2 separate regions of the Homo sapiens genome follow, and region 2 is linked to region 1. Evidence: promoter capture Hi-C in human tissues and cell types (Jung and others, 2019). All regions are on one chromosome and are shown on one strand. Each heading gives the region's core, a stretch centred on a gene start or on the middle of the fragment in contact. The rest is flanking DNA. Distances are from core to core; before and after follow the strand shown. Region 1 holds the start of MORN1 (MORN repeat containing 1). Region 2 has its middle 6.3 kb from the start of MIB2.

Region 1 (2,965 bases), core at 308-2,807:
CTGAGTATTGAGAAGACACACACAGGTAAGCACAGACACAGAGATGAGGGATGCTCTCCAGTGCTGAAGGAGGGAGTGCAGCTCCCTTGAGGGCCTTCAAGGGGTTGGTACACGTCACCTTCAGCAGACCAGAGGCGACCTGTGGGGCTCATGAGCTCTCCTGTCGACTGTTGGGCCATTCATTTGCTCATTTGTTTATGTGACAAGGATGAGGACCTACTTGGTGCAGAGAAGACAGGCCCAGTAAGAGGAGGGCTGGCTTGAAACAACTGCAGGTCCTTGAGAGACCAGAGGTGCTCGGGAGGTGGTGAGGAGCAGGTTGGGAGCCTTGTTGCAGGAGATGAGTGAGCCAGGGGAAGGCAGAGCGGCAGTGTCAGTGAGGCACACAGGGGAGGAGCAGACTCTCCCATCCCCTGCCGTGGCCCTTCAGTGGCCTCCTATCGCTGGGGAGAAAATCCACACTCATACCCAAGGATGGCCTGGCCGGCTTCATCTCCTCCTAGTTGCTGGGTGTGCCACCCGCCAACTCCTGCAGTTCCAGGAATGGGCAGGGCTCCCTCCCTACCAGCTCCTCAGGCACATTTTGTGGGCAGGGTTTATGGGAAAATGTCGGGGAGGAGGGCAGGGGGTTACTACAGGCTACTGTATCTGTCCCAAATCAGGGTCAGGTTCTACCTGAAGATAGTAGTGTTAGCTCTGAGTTCATTCCAGACCCGTTTATTTGATTCTAGAAACAGTTCCTATCAAAACCTGCTCTTTTTTTTTTTTTTGAGACTGAGTCTTGCTCTGTCGCCCAGGCTGGGGTGCAGCGGCGCGATCTCGGCTCTCTGCAACCTCCGCTTCCTGGGTTCAAGCGATTCTCCTGCCTCAGCCTCCCGAGTAGCTGGAACTACAGGAGGCACCACCCCGGGCCAATTTTTGTATTTTTTAGTAGAGACCGGGTTTCGCCATGTTGGCCACACTGGTCTCGAACTCCTGACCTCAGGTGATCCACCCGCCTCGGCCTCCCAAAGTGCTGGAAGTACAGGCAAAAACTGCTTTTGAAACGCGTCCTAGCGTTTCTGGACAGCACCGGCCAGGAAGTCAGGAGGCTTGGTGCTGCTCCTGCGCCTGCCCTCGCCCCAAGTCCTGGGCTTCGGGATCCCCATGGCAACCCCAGGTCCCGCTGGCTGTGAGGCTGCGGCCGGAACCCGGTCTTCCCGGCTAGGAGCCCGCGGGGGGCGACCCCCTGCAGGGCTTGGCCTGCTGCGGGAGGAGGGCTCGGGGAAGGGTGCGAGCCGAGCCCGAGGCGCACGGCGAGTCCTGTGGGAGTGGGGGACGCGGGGGCGGCCCTGGCTCCGCCGCGGCACCTGGACCTCTACTTTCCGAGGTGAGCATTTGGGGGTCGAGGGCGTAGAGCGATCGCACCCTGAATGGAGCCCAGGGCAGCCAGCGACCTGTCCCGTGGCCCGCAGTCGTTACCGTTCCGGGGCGGCCGCCTAGGCGGGTCCCGACGCGGCCCGCGGGAGCTCGGGGTGCCCTCGCCCGCCGCTGCCATCTTGCCGCCGAGGGTTCTCTTAGCGACCAGCAACGCCCGCTTCCATTGGTCTTTGTCGCAAGGGGGGGTGTGGCCACGGGCCTAGTCCCTGAGCCCGCGCAATCTCTGGAGCGAAGCTAGCCGGGCCCGGAGCCAGAGGACGCAGCTGCGCCTGTGCGCGTTTCCGCCGCTGTCGTCTCTTCCGCCGGGAGGCCCGCCCGCCAACGGCCTGCGCGTCTGCGCCGGAAGCGGAAATGGTTGGAGCCCTTGGCCCCGCCCTCGCGCCATCTTGGGGGCCCTGGAGGCGGCGCCGCGGAGGACGGAGCGGAAGTGCTCGCTGCAGCTTCCCGGAGCCGGAGCGCAGCGCCTGCGGCCGCCCGTGCCCCGCCGTCCTCCTTCCCGCGGCCGTGAGGGAGACCGCGGCTCGGCCGTAGCGGAGCTGCGAGGTGCCAGGAAGGGCTGCGTGGCGCGGGAACGGCCGGGCAGCGCCGCCTCCGCTTCTTCCGGGCTGTCAAGGCCGCGGGCGGGCGGGGCCGCGCTGAGGGCCGGGCGGGGAGGGCCGTCGGGGCCCGGGTGGCCGCGGGGACCGTGTTCCCGACCCGCGGCCCTGAGGGGTACGGGTCGCGCCTCGGGGTCGGGCCCGGGACGGGGTGCTGGGGGGTGCGGCGGAGCCCTGGGGCCTGCGAGGGTCGGGGGAGCGGGAGAGGGGCCGGGCGGGGGCTGCAGCCCTCGAGCCACCCGGGCCGCATCTCGTCCGCATCCCCTGCTTGGCATCTGGGGGAAGCGGGCAGTCGCGGCCCCCACAGCGCTGCGAGTTGGGCTGTATTCCAGAGTAATGTGCCCTGTCCCCATCCTGCGTCCAGGTCAGCGCTTATCTGTAGGATTTAGTGTTAAGCTCTGGGGTGAAGGCGTTACTGACGGGCTGAAGGGAAACTAGTTACATCGGTTTTGATCGTATTCTAAATAGGCAATAAAATCATAAATTCTCCAGGCTGACTTAGTACTGGTCTGTGGCCCCACTGATAAAGGTATCGTTCGTTTCTCTGCCAGGTGTCTCACAGCACAGAGGGCTGCTTTCAGCCTAAGTACCTTCAGTGGGCTTTTGCCCTTTTCCCTTTATGAAGAGTAGAGACTGGCCGCTAGTCCTGGAAGCACTTTATTTTTAGTTGAGTTGACATTTCCCAGGAAGATGCAGTTATCCCCGTAAGTGGATAAAGGGTTCTCAGTAATTCAGACTCTCACATGGCTTCTGCCGTATGCCTGAGGTGACGGCGACGGCGGTAACAGTGTGTCAGAGCCAGGTGGAGATATAAGATGGTCAGGCCCAGAGGAGCGGGGAGCCCAGGCTGGAATGTGGCCTTGGGAAGGAGGAAGAGACGGGGTCTGGGAGGGCATTTCAGAGGACTGAACAACACCAGAGGCGTGAAGCTTGGTGCACGGCAGCCGGGG
Region 2 (2,965 bases), core at 299-2,798, 780 kb before region 1:
TGGCATCGCTTCCCATCTCTGCTCCCTGTGGCATCTTGCTGTGTCCCCGGCACCTCTGCAAAGCACAGCCACAATGCATGCTGAATGCATCAACATGCAGAATTCACTCACGGGTCACACAGTTAGTCAAAAATGTCGATGCCCTGCCAGATGGAGAGATGGGAGAGAATACGGATCCCTCCATGAGTCCAAGCCTGACGTGCACTCCCCTCGGGCCTCCTCTTCCTGTGCTCCAGGTTTTCTGTTTCAAGGCCGCTCTTCCCTTCCTTACTGTGTGTCAGCTCAGTCATGGATTTTAAACAATGCTTTCCATATATATATATAATATATGTACTATATATTATATATGTATATATATAATATGTATTATATATAATGTATGTATAATATATATAATTATATATATATGTATTTTTTTTTAGATGGAGTCTTGCTCTGTCACCCAGGCTGGAGTGCAGTGGTGCAATCTTGGCTCACTGCAACCTCTGCCTTCCGGGTTCAAGTCATTCTCCTGCCTCAGCCTCCTGTGCTTTCCATATTTTATACAGATTGTTTGCCAGGCACAGTGGCTCACACCCGTAGTCCCAACTACTTGGGAGGCTGAGGCGGGAGGACCCCTTGAGCCTAGGAGTTTGAGGCTGCAGTGAGCTATGATTGCACCCCTGCACTCCAGCCTGGGGAACAGAGCAAGATCCCCATCTCTAAAAAATAATTAAAAAATAGGCCGGGCGCGGCAGCTCATGCCTGTAATTCCTGCACTTTGGGAGGCTGAGGCAGGCAGATTGCTTGATGTCAGGAGTTGGAGACTAGTCTGGGCAGCACAGCGAGACCCCTGTCTCTACAAAATGTACCAAAAAAAAATTAGCTGGATGTGGTGGCACGAGCCTGTAATCCCAGCTACTCAGGAGGCTGAGGAAGGAGAATCACTTGAGCCCGGGAGGTCAAGGTTGCAGTGAGCCATGATTGCGCCTCTGTACTCCAACCTGGGCAACAGAGTGAGACCCTGTCTCAAAAATAATAATAATAATACCAATAAAACACATTATACAGATCTTTTATTGTTTCATTGAGAAGATCTTGCAGGTGACCTGACTTACCATATTGCTGAAAATAGTCATTGATTTCCTTAATCATTTGATTTTCATTCAGGGGCCAAATCTGGTCCACAAATATGTTATAAAAGTAGGTAACTGCGGCCGGGCACGGTGGCTCATGCCTGTAATCCCAAGACTTTGGGAGGCCGAGGCGGGCAGATCATGAGGTCAGGAGATCAAGACCAGCCTGGCTAACATGGTGAAACCCCGTCTCTACAAAAAATACACAAAAAAATTAGCTGGGCGTGGTGGCGGGCGCCTGTAGTCCCAGCTACTCAGGAGGCTGAGGCAGGAGAATGGCATGAACCCAGGAGGCGGAGCTTACAGTGAGCCGAGATCGTGCCACTGCACTCTAGCCTGAGTGACAGAGCGAGACTCTGTCTCAAAAAAAAAAAAAAAAAAAAGTAGGTACCGGCCGGACGCAGTGGCTCACGCCTGTAATCCCAGCACTATTGGAGGCCAAGGTGGGTGTATCACTTGAGGTCAGGAGTTCAAGACCAGCCTGGCCAACATGGTGAAATCCCGTCTCTACTGCAAAAACTCAAAAATTAGCCAGGCGTGCTGGCACGCGTCTGTAGTCCCAGTTACTCTGGAGGCTGAGGCAGAAGAATCACTTGAACCTGGGAGGCGGAGGTTGCAGTGAGCCAAGATAGTGCCACTGCACTCCAGCCTGGGCAACACAGTGAGACTCTGTCTCAAAAAAAAAAAAAAAAAGGTACCGGCCAGGTGCGGTGGCTCACGTCTGTAATCTCAGCACTTAGGGAGGCCGAGGCAGGTGGATCACTTGAGGTCAGGAGTTCAAGACCAGCCTGGCCAACATGGTGAAACCCCATCTGTATTAATAGTAAATCCAAAAATTAGCTGGTTGTGGTGATGCACGCCTGTAGTCCCAACTACTCGGGAGGCTGAGGCGGGAGAATCACTTGAACCCAGGAGGTGGAGGTTGTAGTGAGACAAGATTGCGCTACTGCAATCCCACCTGGGCAACAAGAAGGAAACTCTGTCTCAAAAAAAAAAAAAGAAAAGAAAAAAGAAAAAACATATTGTCCTGGCTGCTGAGGGGCCTAAGGCCACACACGTGGCAGTTAGCTCAGCCGTGCACCTGTGGGAGTGACAGACCTCAGCCTGGAAGACATTATCTGTGGATCTCCAGTGCAAAAGTGGCCAGTACCAAAATGGAGTCACTTATGTCAAACCCTGAAAAATGGAGCCAGGAGGCCACGAAGGACGGGCTCTCCCAGGTGTGCCAGGAAAGAAACTACGGAATTTCTCAAAACCACAGTACTGCCGCTAAGCTGCCTGCACGAGGACGCTTGCCTGACAAGGGCCGTCTTCACCTCCAGATGAATGCCAACTCCTGCAACAAGCCTGATACAGTTTGGCTGTGTCCCCATCCAAATCTCATCTTGCATTTCCCACAATCCCCACGTGTTGTGGGAGGGACCTGGTGGGAGGTAATTGAATCATGGGGCCAGTTACCCCCATGCTGTTCTCGTGACAGTGAGTTCTCAGGACATCTGGTAGTTTTATAAGGAGCTTTTCCCCTTTGCTCAGCAGGTTTCTCTCCTGCAGCCAGGTGAAGGATGTGTTTACTTCCCCTTCTGCTGTGATTGTTAAGTTTCTTGAGCCACGTGGAACTGTGGGTCAGGTAAACCTCTTTCCTTTATAAATTACCCAGTCTCAGGCAGTTCTTCGTAAGACCGTGAGAATGGACTAACACAAAGTCCCCGTCACCTATGCTCTTTGCTTCAAAGCAGCTTAGGTGGGCTTCTCCTTTCTGTTTTTTTAGAAGCTTCCCCTGTCCCAGCCTCTCTGGATGTGCCTGTGGTCTGCCATAGCACGCATATCCCAAACTGCAATTCCCCGTCATT

What was found. Contacts are between HindIII fragments. The study calls those that stand out against the background at their distance.
Region 2: a fragment that was not itself captured here is called in contact with the fragment with the promoter of MORN1 in region 1 in 1 of the 25 tissues and cell types used here (neural progenitor cells).

The regions. Positions count from the first base shown.
Region 1 is chr1:2,389,997-2,392,961 of GRCh38, forward strand. It overlaps MORN1 (MORN repeat containing 1), which reads right to left and starts at 1,558. Exons shown (of 14, transcript NM_024848.3): 1 at 1,462-1,558. The coding sequence starts at 1,537. RER1 (retention in endoplasmic reticulum sorting receptor 1) reads left to right here and starts at 1,845. Exons shown (of 7, transcript NM_007033.5): 1 at 1,845-1,962. RefSeq lists silencers at 1,131-1,260, 1,421-1,490, 1,621-1,730, 1,831-2,130 and enhancers at 1,554-1,848, 1,717-2,589. The HindIII fragment of the contact is 12,081 bases long and covers 1-2,965 here.
Region 2 is chr1:1,607,719-1,610,683 of GRCh38, forward strand. No RefSeq gene overlaps it. Among named protein-coding and RNA genes, the nearest start is that of MIB2, 6.3 kb to the right of the region's middle. The HindIII fragment of the contact is 9,421 bases long and covers 1-2,965 here.